4 separate regions of the Homo sapiens genome follow, and all the other regions are linked to region 1. The links are contacts of gene promoters, found by promoter capture Hi-C in human tissues and cell types (Jung and others, 2019). All regions are on one chromosome and are shown on one strand. Each heading gives the region's core, a stretch centred on a gene start or on the middle of the fragment in contact. The rest is flanking DNA. Distances are from core to core; before and after follow the strand shown.

Region 1 (4,814 bases), core at 1-2,500:
TCAACGTGTTAAGGCCCTTTTTAAAAAGCTAAGACTGGGCCAGGCGCAGTGGCTCACGCCTGTAATCCCAGCACTTTGGGAGGCCGAGATGGGAGGATCACTTGAGGTCAGGAGTTCGAGACCAGCCTGACCAACATGGTGAAACCCCATCTCTACTAAAAATACAAAAATTAGCCAGTGTGCTGGCACATGCCTGTAATCCCAGCTACTCAAGAGGCTGAGGCAGGAGAATCGCTTGAACCTGGGAGACAGAGGTTGCAGTGAGCCAAGATCATGCCATTGCACTCCAGCCTGGGCGACAAGAGCAAAACTCCATCTCAAAACAAAAAAAAAAACAAAAAAAACAAAAACAGAAAAGAAAAGAAAATGAAGCACAGAGAGGTATAGTCACTTTCACTCTTTCACCAACACAGAGCTGGGGAGTGGCAGAGCTGGGATTTTAACTCGGGGACCCGGCTCTGAGCCTGTGATCTGAATTCCTGCCATTGCACCCATCAGCTTCAGTCTAATGTCCAACTCAGGGACTGCCTCTCACGGTGAGCCCTCCCTGAACCTTCTGGCCCCCACGTCCCCACTCCTGATCTGCCCCAGATTCATCTCTGGCTATTGGGTGGGGCAGAAAAAGAGTCCCCTCTCCACCAGGGTGGGGTAAGGGCAGAAAGCCCCCAACAGCCAGGCCCAGAGCACCCAGTTGGAAGTCCCCTGCCAGCCCGGCCTGGCTTGGGGAGGGTCTTACCGCTTCATGTGCTCGCTGGCCACTCCTTGGATGTAAACAGACATTCCCACGTTGAGCCCGCCCGGGATGGGCTGGTAGTAAGGCAGCGTCTGGAGAAGAGGCCTGGTGAGGGGACTCACAAGCCATCTGCCTGTTGCAGCCTTTACCCCTCCCAGAAAAGCCCCCCAGTCCCTTAAGCAGGAGAGAGGAAACCATGGGGGAGGACCAGGTTGAAGATGACGAGGGCCAACAGTTAGACGTGGACACAGACAGCCTGAGGTCAGGGTAGGAGTAAATCGAGGGTCGGGGTCAGCTTTGGGTAAATCAGACCACAGAGTCAGATGGGGCCCCCCAGGATCAGAGTGGGGAAAATTGGTGTGAGGGCTTATGGACGGAGCTGCGGGCGGAGTGGGGCCTGAGCTGGCATCTCACCGGGTTGTAGGTGGGCTGGTAGCCCGGTGCGGGGACATAGGCCATCGCTCGAGGCTGCGCTAGTGGCTGGTCCTGTGAGAAGAGCTGCAGGAGTGGGAGATGGTGGCGGATGGCAGGCGGTGGTGGCTCTTATACCCAGGGTAAGGGAGTGGCTGGCAGGGGAGGGTCCACAGGGCTCCTCTTCTGGGACTCTCAGGCTGTCGGCTTCTCCTAGAGCGCACCCTAGTCTCCCTTCCCTTGCCAGCTTCCCTGGTGACCAGCCAGGACCCAAATCACCTGGGTCCCCTCCCCTACGCCCTCCTGCAAAGAGGAAGTGCTCATGAACTTCGGCCCTGCCAGGGCCTTATCAGAGCCCATAAAACCCTGCCCAGACTTCTGTTGGCAGAGGGAGGGTGAGACCAGGCAGGGCAGGGCAGGCTGCAGGAATGACCCAGGACAGGTGGGCAGCGGAGGAGGAGAACGCGGAGGAACTGCAAATTCCTGCCTCTCCCAGCAACTGTGAAGGGACCTACGTTGATTGCGTGCCCACCACACATCTTTACCACGTATGTTGTATTGTAGGGAGAGTGGTTTAGATTACTAGTGTGTGGAGCCAGAGGTTCTAGGTTCAAATCCTGCCTTTGCCACTTCTCAGCTGTATGATCATGGGTCAGTGCCTTACCCTCAATTTGCCCATGTGCTCATCTGTAAAATGGGGATATAGTAGTATCGGCTGGGTGCAGTGGCTCATGCCTGTAATCCCAGCACTTTGACTGGCCGAGGTGGATGGATCACCTGAGGGCAGGAGTTCGAGACCAGCCTGGCAAAATCCCAGTCTCTACTAAAAATACAAAAATTAGCCAGGCATGGTGGTGGGTGCCTATAATCCCATCTACTTGGAGGCTGAGGCAGGAGAATCACTTGAACCTGAGTGGAGGAGAGTGCAGTGAGCCAAGGTCACGCCACTGCACTCCAGCTTGGATGACAGATGGAGACTCTGTTTCAAAAAAAAAAAAAAAAAAAAAGGAATTCATAAGAGAGGAAACAAGTATTGAATAGCTATCAAAATATTTTAAAAATGAATTTGTGATCCAGTAATGCCTGTATGTTATTAATCTGCCAAATAAGTTCTAGCTGTGGGTCCAACTGCCACTCAGAAAAATAAATAAATAAAGAAAAGAGTAGTATCAACCTTAGGCTGGGTGTGGTGGCTTGTGCCTACAATCCCAGCAATTTGGGAAGCTGAAGCAGGAGGACTGCTTGAGCCCAGGAGTTCAAGACCAGCCTGGGCAACATAGTGAGACCCCCATCTCTACAAAAATAAAATAAAAATTAGCTGGGCATGGTAGCACACATCTGTATTCCTAGCTACTCAGAGGCTGAGGCAGGAGGATCGCTTGAACCCAGGAGTTAAGGTTACAGTGAGCTATGATCATGCCACTGCACTCCAGCCTGGGTGACAGACTAAGAGTCCGTCTCTAAAAATAGCAACAATAATAGTCATAATAATAATAATCATAATAGTATCAACTTCATAGAGTCCTTGATCATTAAGATAATAAATGCTCAGAACAGGACATAGCATATAGAAGTCATTAACTTAATGCTTGGTCTCTTGCAGTCATTCCAAACATAAATCCGGAAGATTGGGATGATATATGGATAAAAAATCCCAAAGTTTTGTTTGCTCATTTTTGAGACAGAGTCTTGCTCTATCACCCAGGCTGCAGTGCAGTGGCACCATCTCAGCTCACTGCAACCTCCACCTCCCAGGTTCAAGGGATTCTCCTGCCTCAGCCTTCTGAATAGCTGGGATTACAGGCTTACTCCACGCCTGGCTAATTTTTGTATTTTTAGTAGAGACCAGGTTTTGCCATGTTGGCCAGGCTGGTCTCAAACTCCTGACCTCAAGTGATCCACCTGCCTCAACCTCCCAAAGTGCTGGAATTACAGGCATGAGCCACTGCACCCGGCCAGAAACCCCAAAGTCCTTTTTTGTTTTGTTTTTTCTTTTTTTGAGACAGAGTCTCACTCTGTCACCCAGGCTGGACTGCAGCAGCATGATCTCAGCTCACTGCAAACTCACCTCCTGGGTTCAAGGATTCTCCTGCCTCAGCCTCCCGAGTAGCTGGGACTAGAGGCACCTGCCACCACACCTAGCTAATTTTTGTATTTTTAGTAGAGACTGGGTTTCAACATGTTGACTAGGCTGGTTGCAAACTCCTGAGCTCAGGCAATCCACCTGCGTCAGCCTCCAAAAGTGCTGGGATTACAGGTGTGAGACGCCAGCATCAGATCCCATGTGCTGTGCAGTGAGAGGTGCCAGGCAGGGCACGAACGCCACCCTCAACCCCAGGGCAGGCAGGGAGACCAGGAAGCCTTGCAACCCAGAGGGACCCCAGCGACTTTTGCTCACTCCCTCCGCCCCGGAATTCCTTGTGCCCCTCGCCTGCCCGCTGCCAGTCTGAATGGCCATCACCTCCATGCCACCCATTCCCATGCATCCAACCTCTAGCCCCAGCCTTCAGGACTGCAGTCTCTGGAGCCCCTAGGTGCATCCCAGCCCCTCCCACCTCTCCTCTATCCAAGAAGGGCACCAGGTTCTTTACTTTGCTTTATTGTTTGTGGGGTGAAGATAAGGCCTTGGGCTTGAGAAACTCATTGTCATAAAGTTATAAACTGGGAAACTGGGTCAGAAGGCATAGAAACAACTGTCATCGCCCATCCTCCCTTTCTGTGGATGAGGCGGGACAAGGCCGGCCCCCTGGCTGGGGCCTGGGACGCGAGGGCTCTCAGAGCTTGGAGAAGGTGACGGTTTTCAGTTCCTTGTTCTCAGTCGTGGCCTGGACCGACTTCACGAGGTCTTGGGTCTGCAGCATGCTCATGTTCCAGGACGCCTGGTACCGAGGGTGTTGAGAGAGAACGAGGAGAGAGATTAGCAGGGGCCAATCAGGATAAAGCATGAGAGCACCCTGCACCCTGGTTGGTCGCCTGGGGTTAGAGGAGGGCTGTGATTGGTCGGAGCGTGCACCTTACCACGTAGTTGAGGCTCTCGGCCACCGAATGGTCGCGGGAATACAGCAGGTTGACCTTGGTGCTCTGCACCGCCACGGGGCTCTTGCTGGAAATCTCGGCCGCCAGCGCTAAGGCAGCATCCAGCATGACCTCTTTGTCTGGGAACACCCGGCTGCAGTGAAAGAGATCAGGGACCGGGTGGGCTGGGAAGGGCTCTCTCCTCCAGCCTCCCGCAGATGAAGAAGTGGCCACTCACAGAGGAAGGCCCAAGACCCCAGAGAAACAGCCCAATCAGAGCAGGGGGCTGACCCCACAATAAAGAAATGAGCTCACCAAGAAAGGATGCCACTAGGAATTCTAGAGCGAGGAGACAAGGGGACCCGGAGAGGCCTCCAACCCTCCAGGCCTGGCTGCCCCCAGCACTGAGCTACCACGGCCATGGCCCTACCTGACCAGCCCACTGCCCAGGGCCTCGTCAGCCATCATCTTGCGGGCGGTGAAGGCCAGCTCGTTGACCAGGCTGCAAAGGCAAGCGTGCATCAGGAGGCGGCTGCCACCCCGGGGCTGGGAGATGCTCTGGGGTCTCCTGCCCACACCCCCACACCCCCTGCACCCACCTCTGGTTCCCGATGACCTTGGGCAGGCGCTGCAGTGTTCCTACATCGGCAGCCAA
Region 2 (4,762 bases), core at 2,263-4,762, 290 kb before region 1:
AGGCGTCTGTTGTTGGGGGTCAGAGGTCAGGGATTTGTGCCAGGCTGGGGTCACAGGATAGGGACTGGGTCTTAGGTTCAGGTTAGGGGCTATGGCTGGGATCAGTGTTCAGGGACTATATCCAAGGTTAGGGTCAGGCTGGGGTCAAATGGCAGCTGCTAGGTTGGAGATGCTGTTTGGGAGTCGGGCTGGGAACGGAGTTTGGGGCCTGTGTCAGAGGCCGGAGGTGGCATCAGAGCCCATCGCACCCCTGCAGTGTTCGCACAGCCCATTGTGAGCCGTGCACGGCCGGAGCTCCTGCAGTCCCACTTCATCCCAACTATCGGGCGGCTGCGCAAGAGGGCAGGGAAGGTGGTGTCCGAGGAGGAGCAGCTGCGCCTGGAGGCCAAGGCGGAGGCCCAGGAGGGCGAGCTGCTGGTGCGGGACGAGTTCTCTGTGCTCTGCCGGGACCTCTACGCCCTGTATCCGCTGCTCATCCGCTACGTGGACAACAACAGGTCAGCGGGGCCCCGCTGTCCCCATGCCCTCCGCCCCGACCTCCCACGTCCTCCAGCCCCATCTGATCTCCGCCTCCTGACTGGCTAGAAACTTCTTCCAATGCTCTGGCCCCACCAACCTTCTGACTCTTCCTCCTGGTTTCTTCTGGCTTTGAGCACATTGGTCCAACGACAGCCAGCCCACTTGTTTGTTTCTTTTTGTTTTTGGTTTTTGGGTTTTTTTTTGTTTGTTTTTGTTTTTGGAGACAGAGCCTCGCTTTATTGCCCAGGCTGGAATGCAGTGGCGCGATCTCGGCTCACTGTAACCTCCACCTCCCGGGTTCAAGTGATTCTCCTGCCTCAGCCTTCCCAGTAGCTAGGATTACAGGTGCATGCCACCACGCCCAGCTAAGTTTCGTATTTTTAGTAGAGACAGATTTTCACCATGTTGGCCAGGCTGGTCTTGAACTCTTGACCTCATGATTTGCCTGCCTCGGCCTCCCAAAGTGCTGGGATTACAGCTGTGAGCCAATGCAGCTGGCCAGTGTGATTTTTTTTAAATCATTCTCCTAATGCTGGACATTTAGATTGTGTCGATTTCTTTGTCACTATGCACAACACCGTAAGGAATAGTTTGCTTTTTTTTTTTTTTTTTTTATTGAGACAGGGTCTCTCTCTGTTGCCCAGGCTGGAGTGCTGTGGCATGATCATGGCTTGCTGCAGCCTCGGTTCCTGGGTTCAAGCGATCCTCTGCTTCTGCCCCTGAGTAGCTGGGATTATAGACTCACACCAACATGCTCGGCTAATTCTTGTATTTTTATGGGGTCTCACTATGTTGCCCAGGTTGGTCTTGAATTCCCGGGGTCAAGTGATCCTCCCACCTCAGCCTCCCAAAGTGTTGGGATTACAGAAGTGAGCCACCACACTTAGCTGCTTTTTTTTTTTTTTTAACACAACAATACACCATGAAAGACATATAGGCCGGGTGTGGTGGCTCATGCCTGTAATCCCAGCACTTTGGGAGGCCGAGGTGGGCAGATCACCTGAGGTCAGGTGTTTGAGACCAGCCTGGCCAACGTGGCGAAACCCTGTCTCTATTATGAATACAAAAATTAGCCAGGCGTAGTGACGCAGGCTTGAAATCCCAGCTACTCCAGAGGCTGAAGCAGGAGAATCGCCTGAGCCTGGGAGGCAGAGGTTGCACTGAGCTGAGATCGTGTCACTGCACTCCAGCCTAGGAACAGAGCGAGGCTCCACCTCAAAAAAAAAAAAAAAAAAAAAAAAAAGATGTATAGATTCACCTCTTTTGTCTTGGTGGTCGTGTGACATTCTCTGCTGTTGGATATAGTTCAATTTTTCAATCAGTAAATATGAACAAATTGTGGTTTATTCATACAACAGAAGACTCCACGGCAGTGGGAGTGAACAAGTTGTTTCTATGCACAATGTGATTGGCTTTCACAAATGTTAGGTGGAATGAAAGAAGCCAGAAAACCAAGAAATAAACTACATATTTTACCATCTGTTTAATGTTCACGAGCAGATAAGAATAAGTTTGGGGCCGGGTGCAGTGGCTTACAACTGTAATCCCAGCACTTTGAGAGACTGAGGCGGGAGGATCACTTGAGCTCAGGAATTTGAGACCAGCCTAGGCAACATGGCTAGACCCTGTCTCTACAAAAAAAGAAAAGAAATACAAAAATTAGTCAGGCATGGTGACACACACCTGTAGTCCTTGCCTCAGGCTGGGACTGGGAGGCTGAGGTGGGAGGATCGTTTGAGCCCAGGAGGTCAAAGCTGCAGTGAGCTATGATCACACCGCTGCACTCCAACCTGGGCAACAGAGATAGACCCTGTCTCAATAAGGTTTGTTTTTTTTTAATACAAGTAAATGAATAAAATAAAATATGTGAACCTACTTAGATTCTGACCCTGTCTCAAAAAAAAAAGAAATTTTATGCTGGGTGCAGTGGCTCGTGACTGTAATCCCAGCACTTTGGGTGGCCAAAGAGAGTGGATCACTCAAACTCAGTCTCAAACTCAGAAGTTTGAGACCAGCCTGGGCAACATGCAAAAACCCTGTCTCTACTGAAAATACAAAAATTAGCCGGGCGTGGTGGCGCATACCTGTAGTCCCAGCTAAGTACTCCTGAGTGGGAGGCTGAGGCAGGAGAATCACTTGGAACCTGGGAGGCAGAAGTTGCAGTGAGCTGAGATCACACCACTGCACTCCAGCCTGGGCGACAGAGCGAGACCCTGTCTCAAAAAAGAAAAAAAGAAAATTTTTTTTTTTTTTTTTGAGATGGAGTCTCGCCCAGGCTGGGGTGCAGTGGTGCGATCTCTGCTCACTGCAAGCTCCACCTCCCGGGTTCACGCCATTCTCCTGCCTCAGCCTCCTGAGTAGCTGGGACCACAGGTGCCTGCCACCACACCCGGCTAATTTTTTTGTATTTTTTAGTAGAGATGAGGTTTCACCGTGTTAGCCAGGATGGTCTCGATCTCCTGACCTCGTGATCTGCCCGCCTCGGCCTCCCAAAGTGCTGGGATTACAGGCATGAGCCACTGCGCCCAGCTGAAAGAAAAAATTTTAAAAAGTTTTTAGCCTAGAAGTTAGAATATGGATGATTTTTCAGGAGGAGGAAGGGGGAGTGGCTGGGAGGGGCCATGATAGTACTTCCAGGGACCAGAAATGTCCTATTTCTTGACTTCGGTGCTGGCTACACAAGTGTGTTCATTTGTGATAATTCACCAGGTTGATATTTCTTAATATGTAGGTTATATAATACATATGTATGTATCATGTGTGTCTATGTATTGCATGCATGTATTATATTTATGTATTTCGATGAAAAGGTTAGACAAAGTTTTTTAAAAAAGGAATAGTCAGGCCAGGGAAGGTGGCTCACACCTGTAATCCCAGCACTTTGAGAGGTCAGGGAAAGAGGATCTCTTGAGCCCAGGAGTTCAAGACCAGCCTGGACAACCTAGGGAGACCCTCTTCCTACAAAAAATAAAATAAAACATTAGCCAGGCCTGGGCATGGTGACGTGCACCTGTAGTCCCAGCTACTCAGGGAGGCTGAAGTGGGAGGATCACTTAAGCCTGGGAGGTTGAGGTTGCAGTGAGTGGAGATCGCATCACTGTACTCCAGCCTGACAGATTGAGACCCTGTCTCAGAAAGAAAGAAAGAGAGAGAGAGAGAGAGAATGGATCGTTAAAAAATTTTAAATGTTCAGCTGGGCACAGTGGCTTACACCTGTAATCCCAGCACTTTGGGAGGCCGAGGTGGGTGGATCACGTAAGGTCAAGAGTTCAAGACCAGCGTGCCCAACATGGTGAAACCCCGTCTCTACTAAAAATACAAAAATTAGCCCGGTGTGGTGTCGGGCCCCTGTAGTCCCAGCTACTCGGGAGGCTGAGACAGAGAAAAAAAATTTTTTTAATGTTCATCTGCATGGCCAGATGACCCTAGAAACCCCATCCCTCTGACTGGATGTCTCCTGGTCCCCATCTCCTCCTCCAAGATCTCTCTCTGGGCAGCCCCCTTCCCTGGGATCCCCACCCCCTCCCTCACCTCCCCTCCGCTGACCCCAGGGCGCAGTGGCTGACGGAGCCGAATCCCAGCGCGGAGGAGCTGTTCAGGATGGTGGGCGAGATCTTCATCTACTGGTCCAAGTCCCACGTGAGTGCCCACCCCAACCGCCCTCCCCACAACCAGAGGAGCCGCAGCCCACAGGCGCCTGCCTTCACCTGTCCGGTCTGCAACACTGCTTCCCCCACCAGAACTTCAAGCGCGAGGAGCAGAACTTTGTGGTCCAGAATGAGATCAACAACATGTCCTTCCTGACTGCTGACAACAAAAGCAAAATGGCTAAGGTCGGGGCTTGGTTCTGGGAGGAGCACTTGGCAGAGAGGGCGGGAGCACCCTCTAGGACTTCCTACCTGGCCTGTCCTCACCCAGCCAGCCCGTCCTGGGCGCAATCCCTGCAGTCCTCAGAGCAGCCCCTCTTACCTCCTCTCCCTCTCCCTTCCTCCCCAGCTCCTTCCTCCTCCTGTATCTTCTCCCTCCTCCCATCTCCCTCCTCCTCTCCATCTCCCTCTTCTCTCATCTCTGTCTCCTTCCTCCTCCTGTATCTTCTCCCTCCTCCCATTTCCCTCCTCTCCATTTTCCTCTTCTCCAAGCCTCTCTCTCCTCCCATTTCCCTCCTCCTCCTCCTCCCCATTTTCCCCCTCTTCCATTTCTTTCTTCCTCTCCCCATTACCCCATTTCCTGCTTTCCTCCCTAT
Region 3 (4,914 bases), core at 819-3,318, 470 kb before region 1:
GAGATAATGGAGAGCAGGTTCTTTTAACTCAAGATACAATCAATCCTGGGAGCGCAAGGAGCAAGCAAGTCTAGACACATTCCAGAGCCATGAGCCCTGGATTCTATCGAGGCCATGAGGGATTTTATGCCCTTGGCTTAGATTATGGTGCATGATGGTAGGCTTCCACCCTTTAGCACAGAGCTTGGTGTTCCAAAGGCCACAAGGGGTTTTAGACCCTGGACCCCGGACATGTTCCAAGACTCTTTTACATTATGTCAGACATGCAAGCCCTGCCTCAGCTTCTCCTAACACTCTGTCGCCCAGGCTGGAGTGCAGTGGCGCAATCTCGGCACACTGCAGTCTCTGCCTCCTGGGTTCTAAGCGATTCTCCTGCCTCAGCCTCCTGAGTAGCAGGAATTAAAGTTTTTAATTTTGGTGAAGCCCAGTTTATAAATTTTTTTCTTTTTTTTGCTTGTGTTTTTTGTGTCATTTACAAAGGCCTTGCGTAACTAAAGATCATGAAGACTTACTCATATTTTCTTCAAGAGATTTTTAGTTTTAGCTCTTACATTTAGGTCTTTCATCCATTTTGAGTTAATTTTTGTATATGGTGTGAGGTCCAAGCTTTTACACGTGCATATCCAGTTGTCCCAATGCCGTTTGGTGAGATTCTTCTTTTTTTTTTTTGAGACAAAATCTCATTCTGCCACCCAGGCTGGAGTGCAGTGGCGTGATCTTGGCTCACTGCAACCTCCCCCTCCCAGGTTCAAGCGATTCTCCTGCCTCAGCCTACTGAGTAGCAGGAATTACAGGCATGCGCCACCATGCCTGGCTAATTTTTATATTTTAGTAGAGACAGGGTTTCACCATGTTGGCCAGGCTGGTCTCGAACTCCTGACCTCAGGTGATCCACCTGCCTTGGCCTCCCAAAGTGCTGGGACTACAGGCGTGAGCCACCATGCCTGGCCTGTTGAGATTATTCTTTCCCCGCTGAATTGTCTTGGCACCTTTGTCAAAAATCAATTGAATATAAATATAAGGGTTTCTTTCTGGACTCAATTCTATTCTAAATGAATTGATTTCTCAATAATTCATTGCTCTAAATGCCTATTCATATGCCAGTATCACAGAGTCTTTTTTTTTTTCTTTTTTTGAGACAGGGTCTCACTCTGTCACCCAGGCTGGAGTACAGTGGCATGATCTCGGCTCAGTACAGCCTACACATTCTGGGTTCAAGCGATTCTCCTGCCTCAGCTGCCCAAGTAGCTGGGACTACAGATGTGCGCCACCACGCCCGGCTAATTTTGTATTTTTGGTAGAGATGGGGTTTCTCCATATTGGTCAGGCTGGTCTTGAACTCCTGACCTCAGGTGATCCACCTGCCTCGGCCTCCCAAAGTGCTGGGATTATAGATGTGAGCCACCGCGCCCGGCCAATAATTTTATTTTTTTAGAGACAGGGTCTTGCGCTGTCACCCAGGCTGAAATGCAGTGGCTTGATCATAGCTCATTGCAGCCTCGACCTCCTGGGCTGAAGTGATCCTCCTGCCTCAGCCTCCCAAGTAGCAGGGACTACAGGCTCAAGCCATCACACCAGTGTACTTTCAATTAGACAGGGTCTCACTATGTTGCCTAAGGCTGGCATGAAAGAATTTCTGAGAGTAGTATTAATAAATGCAAATAATAAAATGAGGTAATACGTTAGAAAGGAGGGGGGGGCACTGTTTTAGTGGGGGTCGTTGGAGAAGGTCACTCTGGAAAGGCTTGAGCAGAGACTCAAATGATAAAAAGTGGGGATTATTAGGAGAGCCAGGTAAAGCTTTCCAGGCCGAGGGAAGAGCCAGCACGATGGCCCAGAGGTAGGAAAGAGGTCAGCATGTGTGAGAAACTATGAAGAGGACTTTGTGGCTGGAGCAGAGTGAGTGAGAGGGAGTGTGGGAGGAGAGGTCAGGGAAGTGATGGGGGAAGGTTTTTGGGGCTTGATGGGCCATGGTGAGGACTTGGCTTTTACTCTGAGACAGAGCCTGAGAGGGCCCTATGCAGAGGAGGGATTGGATCTGATTCCAGGCTTCACTGGCTCCCTCCTGTTGTTGGGGGAGCAGGGCAGGAGCAGTGAGACAAGGAGGAGGCTGCTACATTGCCCAGGCAGGAGATGACGGGGACAGGACCAGGGTGTTAGTGGCTACTGTCATCCTCACAGGAAGGAGGTCCCTGCCCCACTAGCACCTTCTCCTCTGCAATGGGAACTCAGGCAGGGCCAGGGACAGGTGTAGTTGACAGGATTGAAAAGAGCCTGGTGCTGGGTGTGGTGGCTCATACCTATAATCCCAGCACTTTGGGAGGCCAGGGAGAGAAGATTGCTTGAGCCCAAGAATTCAAGACCAGCCTGGACAACATAGGGAGACCCTGTCTCTACAAAAAAAATCAAAAAATTGGGCCGGGCATAGTGGCTCATGCCTGTAATCCCAGCACTTTGGGAGGCCAGGGCAGGTGGATCACCTGAGTTCAGGAGTTCGAGACTAGCCTGACCAACATGGTGAAACCCCATCTCTACTAAAAATGCAAAAATTAGCCGGGCGTGGTGGCGCATGCCTGTAATCCCAGCTACTTGGGAGGCTGAGGCAGGACGATCGCCTGAACCTAGGAGGCAGAGGGTGCAATGAGCTGAGATGGCGCCCTTATACTCCAGCCTGGGCAACAAGTGCAAAACTCCGTCTCGGAAAAAAAATAAAAAATAAAAAAATTAGCCAGGCGTGGTAGTGGTACCTGTAGTCCCAGCTATTTGGGAGGCTGAGGTAAGAGGATTGCTGAAGTCTGGGAGAGGTGGAGGTTACAGTGAGCTGTGATGGCACCACTGCACTCCGGACTGGGCAACAGAGCAAGACCTTATCTTAAAAAAAAAAAAAAAAAGCCAGGTGCAGTGGCTTACACCTGTAATCCTAGCATTTTAGGAGGCTAAGGCTGGAGGATTGCTTGAGGCCAAGAGTTCAAGACCAACCTGGCCAACATAGCAAGACCCTGTCCCATGTAAAAAATAAATAAATAAATAAATAAATAAATAAATTACAGAAATAGCCAGCCTGGGCAACAGAGTAGACTCTGTCTCTACAAAAATTAAACAGTTTTCAAAGAAAGAATGGCCTGGTGGCTCATGCCTGTAATCCCAGCACTTTGGGAGGCCGAAGCGCGCAGATCAGTTGAGGTCAGGAGTTTGAGACCAGGCTGGCCAACGTGGTGAAACCTCATCTTTACTAAAAATACAAAAATTAGCTGGGCATGGTGGTGCACGTGTGTAGTCCCAGCTACTCAGGAGGCTGAGGCAGGAGAATCACTTGAACCCAGGAGACAGAGGCTGCAGTGAGTCGAGATCATGCCACTGCACTGTAGCCTGGGCGACAGAGTGAGACTCCTTCTTGAAAAAAAAAAAAAAAAGGAAAAGAAAGGAGCCTGGCAAAGAAAGTAAAGAAAGTCAGCCCTCTCGATGAAGGGCTGTGCACAGGTGCTGAATCTGGTAAATCCCTCGCCCTGGTCCCACAGCAACCAAGGCCTCCCCTTGGTGGCCTGAGTGCCGCCTTCTCTCGGGGACGCCTCTTAGCCTTCACTGGTGCTGTTCTGCATGCCTGAAACATCCTTCTCCTCTTCTCCCATCTCCACTCTAAGCGCTCCCCACCCTTTTCTATTCAGCCAGGATCCCGCATCCCTGGGAGGTTGTCCAGGCATGCCCTGTCACCCTCGTCCTCAGTCCCTTCCTGTGTAATCGCCCCATCCTACACTCACCCCAAGCTCAAGGCCCAGAACTTGGCTGTCCTCTGACTTGCATAGGTGGCAGAAAGTCTGCTGCAGAGAGGGTGGAAGCCCACCTCAAGAGTGAGACTGGGGGCCAGATGAGATGGCTCACGCCTTTAATGCCAGCACTTTGGGAGGCCAAGGTGGGAGGCTCACTTGAGACCAGGAGTTCAAGACCAGCCTGGGCAATCTAATTTTTTTTTTTTAAGCCTGGAACTGGGAATCCCTGGAGTGGAAAGCAGCACCCTGGGTGCCACATCCCTCCCACCTTCCCAGCATCCCTCCCACCTGCACAGTTTTGTTCATCCCATGCTGCCCTTCCCTATGTATTCCCTACATGCACATTCTGTCTGCAGACACTGGCTCTGGAGTCATCTCCTCCAGGAAGGCCTCCGACTCCCTCCACAGCCCCTTACCCCTCTGCCCCCTCCTAGGCTGTTCCATCCCCCATCCAAGCCCCAAACCTAGACCATGTCCTCTGACCATCACATGGTGGACAGTGTGCTGCCCCCGGACAGCCCAGGAGACAGACTGTTAGAGGCGGGCTTAAGGCAGGGGGCACCCAGAGGCTACCATAAGGACACACTTGTGGGGCCATCTCACCCTCAGCCCTCTGAGGACCTGGTGCGCATGGGCCACCTGACGGGGCTAAAGCCCCTGGTGCTGGTCACCTTCCAGTCCCCAGTCAACTTCTACCGCTGGAAGATAGAGCAGCTGCAGATCCAGATGGAGGCTGCCCCCTTCCGCAGCAAAGGTGGGCCTGGGGGAGGCGGGAGGGATCGCAACCTGGCAGGGGTGTGGGGTTTGCTGGGGGCCTCTGTGGGGCCATGATCTGAGGAGGGTATGTGGGGGGCGGGAGCTCAGCACATTCCATGGCCTAGAGGGGCCACACAGAGGCCCCAGTGGGACCCATGGCGTGGAGGCAGGTATGGGGAGTTGTGGGGAGATCCCAGGGTGGTCTGGGGCCTGGAACCGGCCATTGGGAGGCCCCAGCAGTTTCAGTGCCCAGGGCCTCCCTGCAGAGCCATGCATGGCAGAAGAAGTGTGTAGCATGAGCTGGTACACGCCCATGCCCATCAAGAAAGGCAGTGTGGTCATGCGTGTGGACATCAGCAGCAATGGCCTGGGGACCTTCATTCCAGATAAA
Region 4 (4,823 bases), core at 1,730-4,229, 270 kb before region 1:
AATCATATACTACAGTGTAATAAACCTCCAATCATATACTACAGTGTAATAAACCTCCAATCATATACTACAGTGTAATAAACCTCCAATCATATACTAAAGTGTAATAAACCTCCAATCATATACTACAGTGTAATAAACCTCCAATCATATACTACAGTGTAATAAACCTCCAATCATATACTACAGTGTAATAAACCTCCAATCATATACTACAGTGTAATAAACCTCCAATCATATACTACAGTGTAATAAACCTCCAATCATATATTACAGTATAATAAACCCCCAACTACCCATCACTCAGCTTTAACAGTTTGCTTTCACAGAACAATGTTTTTTAAATAGTGGGAACCAACCCATCAGACAGACGTTCATGAATCAGTTTCACGCAGAGGTTCTCATTGTAATTGTACACTGGCATGCCTGGGGAGCTTTAAAAGAGACTTAAGCCCAGGTTTTGCCTTTACAGGTTCTAATTCAATTGATCTGGGGTTGGGCCTGAGCACTGGGGTTTTTAAAAGCCTCCTAGTTGTCCTGATGTGCAGCCAAGGTTGAGAGGATGAGAAGCACACACTTCTTCTTTTGTAGTTAACTAGAGCAGTACAGGACAGAAAAGAACAGAATGCATGGCACAGAGTAAGGCAATGTGAAACTTCTCTTTCGGGAATAGGTGAATATAATTTCAGATTGAACACATGTATCAGGTCTCAATGTAAAAAGGATTTCCTCGGCTGGGTGTGGTGGCTTACACCTGTAATCCCAGCACTTTGGGAGGCCGAGGCAGGTGGATCACAAGGTCAGGAGTTGGAGACCAGCCTGTCCAATATGGTGAAACCCTGTCTCTACTAAAAATGCAAAAAAATTAGCCGGGCGTGGTGGCGCATGCCTGTAATCCCAGCTACTCAGGAGGCTGAGGCAGGAGAATTGCTTGAACCTGGGAGGCAGAGTTTGCAGTGAACTGAGATCATGCCACTGCACTCCAGCCTGGGTGACAGAGCAAGACTGTATCTCAAAAAAAAAAGGATTTCCTACCATAGATTGCAGTCAGAAAAGATTAAAAAATTACTGCACAAGAATATAAACTTCACAAGGGCAGGGGCTGGACATACGGCTCATGTCTGTAATCCCAGCACTATGGGAGGTCAAGGTAGGAGGGTTGCTTGAGGCCAGGAGTTCGAGACCAGCCTGGGCTGGTCTCAACAAAAAAATTAAAAATTGGCCGGATGTGGTGGCTCACACCTATAGTTCCAGCTACCTGGGAGGCTGAGGTGGGAGGACCACTTGAACCCAGGAGGTCAAGGCTGCAGTGAGCTATGATCATGCCACAGTACTCCAACCTAGGCAACAGAGGGAGACCTTGTCAAAAAAAAAAAAAAATCCCCCCCAAGGCCGGGGACTGTTTTTTTTTTTTTTACTACTGTATCCCCAGAGCCTAGAATACTGCATGACACATAGTAAGAACGCAACAAATTTGTTGTAGCAAAGAGGATGTGACAATCTTAATCTCGTGAGGATGTAGTATACACTCAATAAAATATGTTGAATAAATGAACAAGTGACCAATCCATATGTTCCCTGGCCTTTAGTAGGTGCTCAATAAATATTTGTTGGATAAATGCATGAATATCCCCAGCACATAGGAGGAATTTGATAAAATTGTTTGGAAACTAACGAGGAACTGAATCTCTATTTCTCCCTGCTACATAGTTGGTGGTCAATATACAAATTTGTTGGAAAAAACTGAATGAATAAATGACGCTCCACCACATTTGACACATAGCAGGCCCTCAATAATATTTATATTTTATTTTTTTATATTTATTTATTTTTTGAGACGGAGTTTCACTCTTGTTGCCCAAGCTGGAGTGCAGTGGCATGATCTAGGCTCACTGCAACCTCTGCCTTCCGGGTTCAAGCAATTCTCCTGCCTCAGCCTCCCAGGTAGCTGGGATTACAGGCACATGCCACCACACCTGGCTAATTTTGTATTTTTTTTAGTAGAGACGGGATTTCACCATGTTGGCCAGGCTGGTCTCAAACTCCTGACCTCAAGTGATCCACCCACCTGGGCCTCCCAAAGTGCTGGGATTACAGGTGTGAGCCACCGCTCCCAGCCTATTTTAAAATTATTTATTTATTTATTTATTTATTTTTGAGACGGGGTTTCCATCTTGTTGCCCAGGCTGGACTGCAATGGTGAGATCTCCACTCACTGCAACCTCTGCCTCCGGGGTTGAAGCGATTCTCCTGCCTCAGCCTCCCAAGTAGTTAGGATTGCAGGTGCCCACCACCACACCCAGCTAATTTTTGTATTTTTAGTAGAGACGGGGTTTCACCATGTTGGTCAGGCTGGTCTCAAACTCCTGACCTCAGGTGATCTGCCTGCCTGGGCCTCCCAAAGTGCTGGAATTACAGGCGTGAGCCACCCGGCCAGTATTTTTAGACAAATGAATAAATGATCATCCATCTTTCTCTGTCACATAGTAAGTACTTGATAGTTATTAAATAAATTGATGATGATATGCTTTCTGGCATACAATAGGAACTCAACACATGAGTATTGCATAAATGAATAAATGACCCACTGTTCATCTCCCCTAGCACATGGGAGGTGCTGGATAAATGACTTTTCATCTCCCCAGATTTCCAGAACTACCTACGGACACAGACAGGGAACACGACCACTATTAACATCATCATTTGCACTGTGGACTACCTCCTGCGGCTGCAGGTGAGGACGTGAGACGGTTCAGGTGTGACTTGGGTCGGGGGCTGCAGGGCCATGGTCGGCCCCAGCACCCCCTCACACCCTACCCGCCCCCACCAGGAATCCATCAGCGACTTCTACTGGTACTACTCGGGCAAGGATGTCATTGAAGAGCAGGGCAAGAGGAACTTCTCCAAAGCCATGTCGGTGGCTAAGCAGGTGTTCAACAGCCTCACTGAGTACATCCAGGTAGGGCGCTCCCCCTGGGGCGGGAGTGGGAAGGGAGGGGGTCCCGCATCGTGATCCCTGATCCCTTCTCGGGGATTCCCTTCCCCCCCACACGGCACTCTGCCTCCCAGGGTCCCTGCACCGGGAACCAGCAGAGCCTGGCGCACAGTCGCCTATGGGACGCAGTGGTGGGATTCCTGCACGTGTTCGCCCACATGATGATGAAGCTCGCTCAGGTTCGAGCCCCTCTGGTCTCCATCCACCTGCTTCCGGGCGTCCCCCAAGTGGTCCATTTCCAAGTCTTGCCCCTTTGGTCAGTTTGTCACCCGAGTGCTCCCGGCATGTTCCAGACTGGTTCCCTCTCAGTGGCCAAATCCATCCTCTTTCTGGATTGGCTGTCTGCATGACCCCGCCTCCTCCTCTGCCCCTCCCTCCCCACCAATCAGCTGGTTTTCCATCCACGCTTCCATTGGTCTGACGTGTTGGCCCCGTCCCAATGGCCGGAGCTCCTCTATGATTGATTGCTGTTTTTCTCTCTGATGAGTCATCGCAGATGTGGACAGTCCTTGGGCTAGGATGGGGCTGGTTTCTAGATTAGAGCCTGGGGCTGAGGAAATGTTTTGCTTCTTTATCTTACTTGCGGCAGATGACACCCATATCAGGCATTCATGATGTAAGGTCCCTGTTGAGCACCACCTTCCATTTCCATAATCCTTGTTCCTCTTTCCCTCACCCCTTTGCAGCCTTGCCAATGTCTCACGAACACTTAATCCATTTGCTCTGCTTCTGTCTGGTAACTATATTCAAGGCTGCCATATACTGTTCCGCAGGTCGTGCACTGCACAAAGGCACGATCTCTGAGAGCATTCACATCCTACACATAATGGTGTATTTATTACAATAGTTTAGTTTTCCAGCAGATGGCAGTAAAGCATCCAGCATGTTATAACTTCCCTACAGGAAGTGTTTTAGGGGACGCCTTTTTTTCTAATTTGCTCAAAGGTGCCCCAGGGGCTGGCAGAAACCCTAATTCGTTGTCATCTGACTTTTTAAAAGGAGTTAAACTTAGAATGCAATTCCTCCGTGTCACAGCAGCTGAAGTTGTGCTGTTGGTATCCTAAAATTCTAGAGAGTGTTGGTATCATCATGTAGAATTCCAAATCCTGCAGGGCTAATTCATCCGCCACCATCTAGTCTAGGTTGCAAAAGCTAGAAATCCAGTGCAAAGTGGTGGCTTAAGAAAAATAAAGAATTTATCAGTTCATATTACAGATCCAGGGCTTAGAGTGATGTCAGCAGAACTGCCTCCTCTTTGACTGCATTTGCAAGCAGGCTGTCTCCCTGGGCTGGAAAAAATGGTGCCTCAGGCTCCTATCCACTCTACTTCTTAACAGCCCTAGAGGGAAGAGATCTCCTCTTTCCTGAAAGCTCCAAGAAAAAAAAAAACCTGAGATTCTCTCTGACTAGCCTATTGGGTCACATGTCCCTCCCTGAACCAATCATCATAGGCTTAGGAAAGAAAGCTTTGACTGACCAGGCCCGGTCATATACCCACCTATAGAACCAGGAGGTAGGGTTAGCCCCATGTGCTCTGACTGTGGGATGGGGGACTCCGCAGGTGAAAATTGAGGGATTGTAAAGAGAGGAGGGGGACTGAATCATGGGTAGGCACAAACCACAGGCGCCCACCCACTGTAAGATCTTGAGATTAGGAGTGTCGGGACCTTAGGCGCAGAATGCAGAGCTTTGGAACTGTGGAAATACATTAGGATTGGAATCAACAACTGATAGAACTAGCATGGGAGCAAAAGATCCTTACATCCCATTTATCTGGTATCATCTCCTCCCCTCTCCATTTTATTTGGTGGAACCATATGAAATTACC

The links. Contacts are between HindIII fragments. The study calls those that stand out against the background at their distance.
Region 2: a fragment that was not itself captured here is called in contact with the fragment with the promoter of LGALS4 in region 1 in 1 of the 25 tissues and cell types used here (bladder).
Region 3: a fragment that was not itself captured here is called in contact with the fragment with the promoter of LGALS4 in region 1 in 1 of the 25 tissues and cell types used here (spleen).
Region 4: a fragment that was not itself captured here is called in contact with the fragment with the promoter of LGALS4 in region 1 in 2 of the 25 tissues and cell types used here (adrenal gland and lymphoblastoid cells).

Annotation. Positions count from the first base shown.
Region 1 is chr19:38,811,695-38,816,508 of GRCh38, forward strand. It overlaps LGALS4 (galectin 4), which reads right to left and starts at 1,251. Exons shown (of 10, transcript NM_006149.4): 1 at 1,148-1,251; 2 at 737-825. The coding sequence starts at 1,192. It overlaps ECH1 (enoyl-CoA hydratase 1), which reads right to left. Exons shown (of 10, transcript NM_001398.3): 7 at 4,759-4,814; 8 at 4,590-4,661; 9 at 4,163-4,313; 10 at 3,728-4,023. The coding sequence ends at 3,919. RefSeq lists a silencer at 4,061-4,261. The HindIII fragment of the contact is 29,723 bases long and covers 1-4,814 here.
Region 2 is chr19:38,518,958-38,523,719 of GRCh38, forward strand. RYR1 (ryanodine receptor 1) reads left to right here. Exons shown (of 106, transcript NM_000540.3): 67 at 257-497; 68 at 4,071-4,158; 69 at 4,260-4,352. Among named protein-coding and RNA genes, the nearest start is that of MAP4K1-AS1, 75 kb to the right of the region's middle. The HindIII fragment of the contact is 3,952 bases long and covers 1,537-4,762 here.
Region 3 is chr19:38,339,204-38,344,117 of GRCh38, forward strand. It overlaps CATSPERG (catsper channel auxiliary subunit gamma), which reads left to right. Exons shown (of 29, transcript NM_021185.5): 4 at 4,377-4,521; 5 at 4,790-4,914. Among named protein-coding and RNA genes, the nearest start is that of CATSPERG, 5.8 kb to the left of the region's middle. RefSeq lists an enhancer at 4,142-4,914. The HindIII fragment of the contact is 4,605 bases long and covers 1-4,371 here.
Region 4 is chr19:38,540,702-38,545,524 of GRCh38, forward strand. RYR1 (ryanodine receptor 1) reads left to right here. Exons shown (of 106, transcript NM_000540.3): 85 at 2,646-2,734; 86 at 2,831-2,959; 87 at 3,070-3,174. Among named protein-coding and RNA genes, the nearest start is that of MAP4K1-AS1, 53 kb to the right of the region's middle. RefSeq lists enhancers at 3,492-3,551, 3,902-3,991. The HindIII fragment of the contact is 5,194 bases long and covers 383-4,823 here.